3 separate regions of the Homo sapiens genome follow, and regions 1 and 3 are each linked to region 2. Evidence: promoter capture Hi-C in 16 types of primary human blood cells and fetal thymus (Javierre and others, 2016). All regions are on one chromosome and are shown on one strand. Each heading gives the region's core, a stretch centred on a gene start or on the middle of the fragment in contact. The rest is flanking DNA. Distances are from core to core; before and after follow the strand shown.

Region 1 (3,246 bases), core at 693-3,192, 510 kb after region 2:
TGGAGAGGATATGGGTTGAGGCCAGGGGCTGTGAGGCCAGGGGCTGTCAGGGGCTGCTGCCGCCACCTAAGCAAAATGAAATGACAGAGCAAGCCAAGGCTTAACAAACACAGTGAAGTGCAGGGGACCTGCTAAAAAGGACATCTACCGCACAGGACGTGGTGACCAGTTGGATGTGTAGGATACAGAGGAGGGATTCATTCAGCAAACTCAGCAAGTGTTATGCACCTGCTGTGTGCTTGATATGCCTGTGAGGTCTTCTTGGCAATGGGAATGCAGCACCAAGCAAAACAGACCCTGGCCCCACCCCAGGGATGTTCATTGCAGGGAGATAGATGATAGACAAATGCATCATGACTCAAATAGGACAGAAGGTGACAAGTACCATGAGGCATAACAGAGCAAGCTGAGCCAGACAGGGAGCACAGGGTTAGGGGATATTGCAATTGTGAATACGAAGTCAGTGTGATCTCATCACAAAGGTGAGGGTGTGAGCCACATGGATATTGGAGGAAGAAAATTCTGGGGAAAAAGTGCAAAGGGCCAAGGTGGGTGTGCATCTGGCATGTCCAAAAAGCAACAGGGAAGGCAATGTGGCTGGAACAGAGTAGGCGAGGGAAGGAGAGGAGAGGAGAGATTTGGGGGGACATGTTGAGCTGTGTAGGTCATAGGCTCTTGCTAGGAGGAGGCAGAGGAGCTGTTGGAGGGTTCTGAGCAGAGGAGTGACGTGACCAGTCTTTTCAGTCTTTCTAGCTGCCAGGGTGAGAAAAGATTCAGGGGGCAGGGGCACAAGCAGTGAGGGGGCTGCTGGATTCATCAAGGCAAGTGATGATGGTGTCTCAGACAGGGTGGGAGGGCGCATTGAGGGTGGGTGGTTGAGTTCCAACCTCGTCTCCTTCCTCTCTGCCCTCAATCACTGCATTCTGTCCACACCAACCTCGTCATCGTTCTACAAACATACCGGAGCCACCTCAGGGCCTTTGCACTTGCCGTTTCCTCTGCTGGAATGTTCCTCCCCAGATCTCCACACACCTCATTCACTCACTTCATTCAGCTCTTTACTCAAATGTCACATTCTCATCAGGACTTTCCTGGCCACCTTATCCAGAATTTATACCACCACCCCTAGCCACATATCACAAGCACACTCGCCCCCATCTTCCTTCCTGCTTCATTTTTTTCTCCTTAGTATACCTTTACTCTTTGATACCTTTACATTTTCCTTGTTTATCCTGTTTATTTCCTGTCTTCCCCAGTGAAATGTAAGCTTCATGAGGACAGGATAAGTGTGAGATCCACTAGACTCCCAAGTGGAGATGTCTAGGAGGCAGCTGGATCTATGAGTCTGGAATTAAGGAGAGAGGTCTGAGCTGTAAAGTCAATATTTAACACCATGAGCCTAGATGACACTGATAGGAGAATGCAAAGACAGGAAACTGCAAGACTAAATGAGGCGCTCCTACATTTAGCAGTGAGGATGTGAGGAAGGAGCAGCAAGGAAACTGACAAGGAGTAGGAAAAACCAAGAGACTGTCATCCGGGAAGCCACAGATGAGATGAGTGGCACCCAGGAGGATGAGGGCAGTGTCTACAGGTTGAGGGCCTGGGAGGGGTGGAACATGTGGGGCAAAGCAGCAGAGCAGAGTGAGGTCAGGTGGGGACAAGGAGACTGTAGGTGAGGGCTGGAGACGTGGAGAGAAGAAGGTGGTGGCCAGGGAGCCAGCAAAGGGGCAGCAGCTGTAACCAAGGCAGGCTTGTGGGTGGCTTAAGGATCGAGGGCTCCACCATACAAGTAGGGACACTAACCTTGGGTAGGAGGAGCGATCCCTTCCTTACCAAAGAAGATGAGAGGTGCAGAAGGCTGGGCGAGTGCCTAGTTTCTGTGGCCTCTGCTTTCCCTGTGAAACAGGAGGTAAGATCAACTGCTCTGGAGAAGAAGGGGCAGGCTGCAAGGCTTGGAAAGAGGGGTAAAGATTTGGTATAGGAAAGGTTACACTGTAGGTAACTATATGTTCCCTCTCTATTTCACCATTTAAGGCTAAACTCCTCACACCGTGCTTGGCACGTAGTAGGTGCCTCATACATTCTTGGACTCTTTGTATCACACCTTGCACCTCATCCATTACCAACTCCTTTAGGCTGCCAAATCCCCCCAACTTTGCACTACCTCCTTAATGCCACCTTGATCAACACTTCCATCATTGTCTACCTGCGATGCAGTAAAGAGCCGGTAAAGGAAAAGGGAGAGAGCTGGCAGAGGACAGGAGCCTAGATCACTGGAAATATGGGACATAGAGCTGAGGTCAAAGACCCCAAGCGTGTTCAAGGAGCGACTAAATTGCTCCAGAGTCAGGATCTGGCTGGATGAGTCTCCCTACATCCAGAAGGATGAGGGGGTTGGTGGAAAAGAGAACAGTTAAGGTGCTGGTGAGTAGGAGTCTCAGCTAAGCAGAGAAGGAGGAATCCAAGGAGCTGGCAGGAGGTCAAAGTACAGATAAGGAAGAGAGAGAAAAGACAGGAAGTTGCACTCAGTGGCTAATGGATTTTAAGTGAAGAAATGAAATGCTCAGGCTTATATTTTAAAAGGATCCCCAGCTGTGTACAGAGAGCAAGCTTCGGAGCCGGGGGCGGGCACAAGGCAGGAGCAGGAAGGCCGCTTAGAAAGGCACTGCAGGGGCCAGGAGCAGTGGCTCACGCCTGTAATCCCAGCACTTTGGGAGGCCAAGGCAGGCGGATCACCTGAGGTCAGGAGTTCAAGACCAGCCTGGCCAACATGGTGAAACCCCCATGTCAAAAAAAAAGAAAGAAAGAGAAGAAAGAGAGAGAGAGAAGAAGGAAGGAAGGAAGGAAGGAAGGAAGGAAGGAAGGAAGGAAGGAGGGAGGGAGGGAGGGAGAGAGGGAAGGAAGGAAGGAAGGAGGGAAGGAAGGAAAGAAAGGCACTGCAGGTAGACAACGATGGTAGCCTGGACCAAGGTAGTAACATGAAGGTGATACAAAGAAAGTCGAGGGGACTTAGGGGCCAACAGGAGTTGGTGATGGATGAGCTGCAAGGTGCGATACACAGAAAAGAGTCCAAGAATGTATCAGGTACCTACTAGATGCCAAGTGGTAGGAAGAGCTTAGCCTTTAAAGGTGAAATAGACAGGAAACTGATCGTTACCTATAGTGCTTTAGGCACTTAAAAGGGAGAGTGATGTGCTGCGGGTGGGAGGAGAGTAAAATAGCTCAGCTGGGTCAGGAGCGAGT
Region 2 (3,122 bases), core at 583-3,082:
GGCCAAATATCCAAACCATAGCAATGAATCTTATTTGCAGCTGGCCTGTGTTGGTTCAGTGCTTAACTCCAGTGGTATTTGGGAGTCTGGTAAAGACCCTCAGCCAAAATATTAATTGATTGTTCTTGCTGGTGATTTATAAGATGCTGTTTAAAGTCCAGAACTCCCTGGGAGGCATGCTTCAGCAGTATGTCTATATTATTTCTTAAACATATGTAGATTGATGATTTGCATTTGGTTTACATGTTTACCCAGCCTGATTTAAGCTACGTAATGAGTGGGGTATACAAAATCCCTCTGTAAGCTGTGCCTTAGCTTCCCAAGACCAAGGGATTACACACATATCAAGAAGAAAGTGCTCTTTCTCATGATATAGAAATATTTCTTCATGTTACTGATAATGCAATAAAGTGTATATGCTTCTGAGTGATTTGCTAATGTGTATGTCAGCAACACATTCAGTATCCAGAATGGCTTGAAGTTATGCCTTCAGGGCCAAAAATAACATAATGTTAAATTCTGTAGATTCAATAACAGAATTTATTAAGAAATCTGCACTGTGAGGTAAATGATTAAACACTGACTCTTTCTCAACATTAGATAATTCTTTTTATTCATCAGAGAAATGTGATTTATGACACATTTAAAAGCATGTTTAAGGCCGGGCATGGTGGTGTATACCTGTAGTCTCAATTACGTGGGAGGCTAGGGTGGGAGGATTGCTTGAGCCTAGTAGTTCTAGGCTTCAGTGCGCCATGATCACACCTGTGAATAGCCACTGCACTCCAGCCTGGGCAACATAGCAAGATCCCATCTCTAAAAAGAAATTTTGTTTTAAAGCATGTTTAAAACATACATACACCAGCCTGGCCAACATAGTGAAACCCTGCCTCTACCAAAAATACAAAAATTAGCTGGGCGTGGTGGCACGTGCCTGTAATCTCAGCTACTCGGGAGGCTCAGGCAGGAGAATTCCTTGAACCCGGGAGACAGAGGTTGTGGTGAGCTGAAATTGTGCCACTGTGCTCCAGCCTGAGCAACAGAGGGAGACTCTGTCTCAAAAAACAAACAAACAAACAACAAAAAAACCATACATAGAAATGTTCCAGTAGAATACAAAGAACCACTTTCTAGAACTGAATGCACCAGAGAGGATTAGAAACCCACTTATTCTCTCCCAGCTTCAAGTATTTAACGTTCCTACTTTTGCACGTGGCAGCCTTGCTGACTCAGATCCGAGGGCGTTGAAAGACAGATTCACAATTTCTGGTCCATATTTGATGCAAATATTTAGAACTATCTAGCAGAGCTTGCTGCCTTTCCAACAATCCAGTTAGTGAATTGAGAATGTTCTCATTTAATAGAAATGAAAGGTAAACGAAGGATCCACCTGGCCATGGGACTGGAGGAATGACCCAAGCCATGCTTCATAGAGGCACAGATAGACACCCTCAGGGAAGCCGAGACCCTTTGAAAAAAGGGCCTGGTGTGTGTATTTTCACACTGCCCCCTGCTGGCTGACACTGGAACATTGATTCTTCCTGCTGACACTGGAACATTGATTCTCCTGTGGCTCTAAGACGACCTAACAGGATGAGGCCAGCGGGCCCCCCGCAAGGAAACTTGAGCTAGAGGCAGTTGGATTTGGCTGAGACGCTCTCCTCAGGGAAGGCCAGGTCTGGGAGTGGGTTTGAACAGCAGTGGAGAAATAACTTCCATAGGGCATGTCAGAGTAAGTTCTAGTGTTTCCAAGAGAATGGGACAGGATCTTAGTGGAATTTAGAAGCCAGGCAGGTGGAAAAGCATTGAGGACCCCATCCCAAGGGCTCGAGTCCCTAGAGACAGCCTGGAAAGATTGGGTGCCAGCTGCAGAGAGGAGAGCAAGGCGACCAAACGCAGGGTAAGGTCTGGAGGTGCTCATAGTTCACTACGGGACATGTACATGGAAGTGAATAATTATGTCACAAGGTGCCAAGGGGGCTAGTTACCTCACATAGGATCTTAGAAAAGGTCTCCTGGAGACCATGTCTGAGCTGGTCCTGAGGTGTGAGTAGGGATTCTCCGCAGGGCGGGGAAGGACTTGAAAGAGTCTGGCAATATGGAGCACATCAGGATTATGGAAGGTGAGCTTGGAGAACAAGGCAGAGTCTAGCCTGTGAAAGGCCTCTTGCAATTTGTTGAGGATCCATGACCTTCTCCCATGCATGGTGAAATGCCCTTAAAGGATTTTGAATAGATTTAAAAGACACTCAAAAACAAAAAACGGTAGATTCAAAATAGACGGTAGGGATCGCTTTCTTCCGTTTTCTTTGAAGGATCAGAAGTGTTTACCACCACCTGGATTGTTTTTGGGCTTTCAGGTGAGTGGGAAAACAAAGAAATTCATGCCTGATCATGTTGAGCCACTTATATAATGTTGCTTTGACACTAATGGAGATGTAACTTCTTTTAAGACATAATAGAATCTCCTAAGTGGGTGTGGGAGTCGTAAGAAGGAGGAATCTGGGCTTCTACAAGCAAGATAGCATGTATTCATTTATTCAGTCAGTCAGTCGCTGGATCGATGCGCTTAGCTTTGTGCTCTGTGCTGGGTGCTGTGTGGGATATAAAAGAAGGTGAGGCCGGGTGCGGTGGCTCATGCCTGTAATCCCAGCACTTTGGGAGGCCAAGGCAGGTAAATCATGAGGTCAGGAGATCGAGACCGTCCTGGCCAACATGGTGAAACCCTGTCTCTACTAAAAATACAAAAATTAGCTGGGCGTGGTGGTGTGTGCCTGTAATTCAGCTGCCTGGGAGGCTGAGGCAGGAGAATAGCTTGAACCAGGGAGTCGGAGGTTGCAGTGAGCAGAGATTGCACCACCGCACTCCAGCCTGGCAACAGACGAGACTCCGTCTCAAAAAAAAAAAAAAAAAAAAGAAGCTGAAATTCCAGCTCTTATCCCCCAAGGAATCTGTACATCTGTACTCTGCTTGGGAATCCACAGAAGAAGGAAAGAATGCCAGCAAAGTAAGATCATGCTGCATGACCTCAAGATAGATGTTAAGGACATTTTGATGGGATAAAGGGAATCTTTGCTAGTTCAGAGATGAGCTTTACTGGCTTTGAGCTAAGTGATAGACAT
Region 3 (3,215 bases), core at 207-2,706, 550 kb after region 2:
TCTTGGGTGTATACCCAGGGGTGGGAACGCTGGCAAGCACATGGCCAGTTTTAGCTGACTCCGCCACAGTCCCCCAGTGTGGTCGTACCACACCCACTCTCTCCAGCAATGGCCTTAAGCTTTTTTGGTGGCACCAGCCTCTTCTTTTCATCATACAATAGAACGAGCCTACACCACGCAGTCAGACAGACTTCAGCTCATGTCTCGGCACCTCTGAGCAACCCTGGGCAAGTTACTTAACTTCTCTGAGGTTTCACTTGCCCACAGGAATAAATAAAGCCTGAGTTGGCATCACTGTCAAATCAGTATCACATTCACATGGCATAGTGCCAGGCAATTGGCACTAAGTGAATATTCTCTCCCTCCCTCTTACCCACCCATGAAGCTCCCTGAAGTGCAGTCACCAAGTAAACATTTCCAGACCTTTCACCCCACCATGGAGTCCTTTAAAATTCCTCTGCCTATACACTGAGAACCTATTTATCACTTTCTTCCCCGATACTTATGTGATGGGGCTGCTTGTCTCCATCCCACTGCAGTGGATGGGGAAATCCAACAACTGAGGAGTCAGAAGCAGACAGCAGACTATGAGTCATGGAAGGTAACAGGTAATAGAAGGTGGCTTCCATAAAGTGACCCTGGGCCAGGGAGGAGACAGACATGCTTTGACCAAAGTAAGGTCCAAATTTACATTGTCTGCTTATGTACCATTACAGAAAGATGTCCAAGACATATTGTGGGTTTTTTTGATTTTTTATTTGTTTTTCTGTTTGTTTTTGAGACAGAGTTTCACTCTTGTTGCCCAGGCTGGAGTTCAATGGCGCGATCTCGGCTCGCTGCAACCTCCACCTCCTGGGTTCAAGCAATTCTCCTGCCTCAGCCTCCCGAGTAGCTGGGATTACAGGTATGCATCACCACACCCGGCTTATTTTTTGTACTTTTAGTAGAGACAGGGTTTCACCATGTTGGCCAGGCTTGTCTTGAACTCCTGACCTCAGGTGATCCACCCGCCTTGGCCTCTCAAGGTGCTGGGACTACAGGTGTGAGCCACCGCGCCCAGCCTACAGGACATATTGTTAACTAAAACAAGCAAAATCAGGACAAGATGAATACTTTGGTGCTTTTGTATAAAAAGGAGGGAGAAGAGTGTTTTTATATTGACTTACATCTAGGAATGGATACCCCTAGGGCTGTGGGAGAGGCAACAGTGACTGGGGACACTGTGAGAGGGAACATTTCAGTGTATTGTATCCACGTGGACAGCTTTTGGGCTTAAACTACATGAACAGATCATCTATTCAGACAATTTTTCATATATAGGCTGGGCATAGTGGCTACGCCTGTAATCCCAACACCTTGGGAGTCCGAGGCGGGTGGATCACCTGAGGTCAGGAGTTTGAGACCAGTCTGGCCAATATAGCAAAACCCCAACTCTATTTAAAATAGAAAAATTAGCTGGGCATGGTGGTTCGTGCCTTAATCCCAGCTACTCGGGAAGCTGAGGCAGGAGAATCGCTTGAGCCTGGGAGGTGGAGGTTGCAGTGAGCCGGGATCATGCCACTGCACTCCAGCCTAAGCAACTGAGTGAAACTCCGTCTCAAAAAAAAAAAAAATTCATATATATATTTAGACATTTTTCAGTTATGCCAGCAGGTGGGTATGAATCCCTTGATATAAGCTCCATGAAGATTTCTGGCAGATCAACCCTGGCAAAGCAAAATGTCTGTGAGGTTTGTGCATGTAGGTGTGTGTGCGTAAGTGGATGCAGGTAAGCATGTGTGTACGTGTGTCTGTGTGTTAGACATCTCCATCACAACCTACCAGCCTGGGCAATATAATGAGACACTCTCTCTACAAAAAAATAAAAATAAAAATTAGCCAGGCATGGTGGCACATGCCTGTAGTCCCAGCCACTCCTGAGTAAGGAGGATCATTTAAGCCCAGGAGTCTGAGGCTGCAGTGAGCCATGATCGCACCGCTGTCTCCAGCCTGGGCAACAGAGTGAGATGCTATTTCAATCAATCAATCAATCACCTGGGAGGAGGAAGGGGCTGTCATGTCCTGTCAAGGGCAGGGCCCTAAATGTCCATGAAGGGGACCTGACCTAAGCTCTTCATAACTTCTCCCCATCACCCCACCCTTCAACTCTGTAGAATTCAAATTTCATCACTAGAAATCTAGGATAACAAAATGACTAACTGTTCTTTAAGATGACTGGGGACAGTGTGAATGGGGACATTTTAGTGTATTCTTATATAGCTTTTGGGCTTAAACCACATGGACAGAGCCATGTGGATCTGAATTCAAATTTCATCACTAGAAATGTGGAGTAACAAAATGACTGTTCTTTAAGGTTCTGTGTGTGTGTGTATGTAGGTAGGTATATGTGTAGGGTAGAGAGGTGAGTGTATGTAGGTGTGTGTACCTGTATATGTCATGTGGGTTATGTGTAAGGTGTAGTGGTGAGTATATGTAGGTATGTGTACCTATATATGTGGGTGAGTATATATAAGGGGGTAGATGTGTCTTTTTACTCAGCAAAAAGAGAAGAAAAAGAAGTTTTTCTTTTTTAAAAGACATCTGTAGAGATGGGGTCTCACTGTGTTGCCCAGGCTGGTTTCAAGTTCCCAGGCTCAAGCAATCCTCCTGCCTCAGCCTCCCAAATTGGTGGGATTACAGGCATAAGCCACCATGTCCAGCCTAGGACCCTTTTCTAGATGCCTAGTATGTAAAGGAAAGTATTGATTGCTTTATATTTGGTGTGTGAATTATTCCTTAATACTGAGAAGCTTGACAGCTTACATGTAAAGGATTACAAATAACACCTTCTTTTATTTTTCTGAGACAGGGTCTCACTCTGTCACCCAAGCTGGAGTGCAGTGGTGCAATCATGGCTCACTGCAGCCTCAGACTCCTGGGCTCAAGTGATCCTGCCACCTTAGCCTCCCAAAGTGTTGGGAGCACTGAACCCAGCTGACGAGAAGAAAAATCTATTCCCCAATAAATGGCAGGCCTTAGGATATTCCCCCTGTCAAAAAATAAAGCCCAGAATGACCATCTGCCCAGAGGTTCAAAAGAAGGCCACCCCAGGGGCCAGACCCACAGCCCAGTGGACAGGTGACGCTAATTAACAATGAACAAGCCAGGTGCGGTGGCTCACCCCTGTAATCCCAGCACTTTGGGAGGCCAAGGCGGGTAGATCACCTGAGGTCAGG

Evidence for each region. The method cuts DNA at HindIII sites, captures the fragments that hold promoters and counts their contacts. A CHiCAGO score of 5 or more calls a contact.
Region 1: a fragment that was not itself captured here is called in contact with the fragment with the promoter of PRNT in region 2 in 4 of 17 cell types (M0 macrophages, M1 macrophages, megakaryocytes and 1 more); the score reaches 8.7 in M0 macrophages.
Region 3: a fragment that was not itself captured here is called in contact with the fragment with the promoter of PRNT in region 2 in 1 of 17 cell types (M0 macrophages); the score reaches 5.3 in M0 macrophages.

The regions. Positions count from the first base shown.
Region 1 is chr20:4,227,336-4,230,581 of GRCh38, reverse strand. The region is part of intron 1 of ADRA1D (adrenoceptor alpha 1D); the gene reads left to right. Among named protein-coding and RNA genes, the nearest start is that of ADRA1D, 20 kb to the left of the region's middle. The HindIII fragment of the contact is 1,346 bases long and covers 1,270-2,615 here.
Region 2 is chr20:4,739,378-4,742,499 of GRCh38, reverse strand. It overlaps PRNT (prion locus lncRNA, testis expressed), which reads left to right and starts at 1,832. Exons shown (of 2, transcript NR_024269.1): 1 at 1,832-1,900. The HindIII fragment of the contact is 12,166 bases long and covers 1-3,122 here.
Region 3 is chr20:4,188,339-4,191,553 of GRCh38, reverse strand. No RefSeq gene overlaps it. Among named protein-coding and RNA genes, the nearest start is that of LINC01433, 3.1 kb to the left of the region's middle. The HindIII fragment of the contact is 2,670 bases long and covers 122-2,791 here.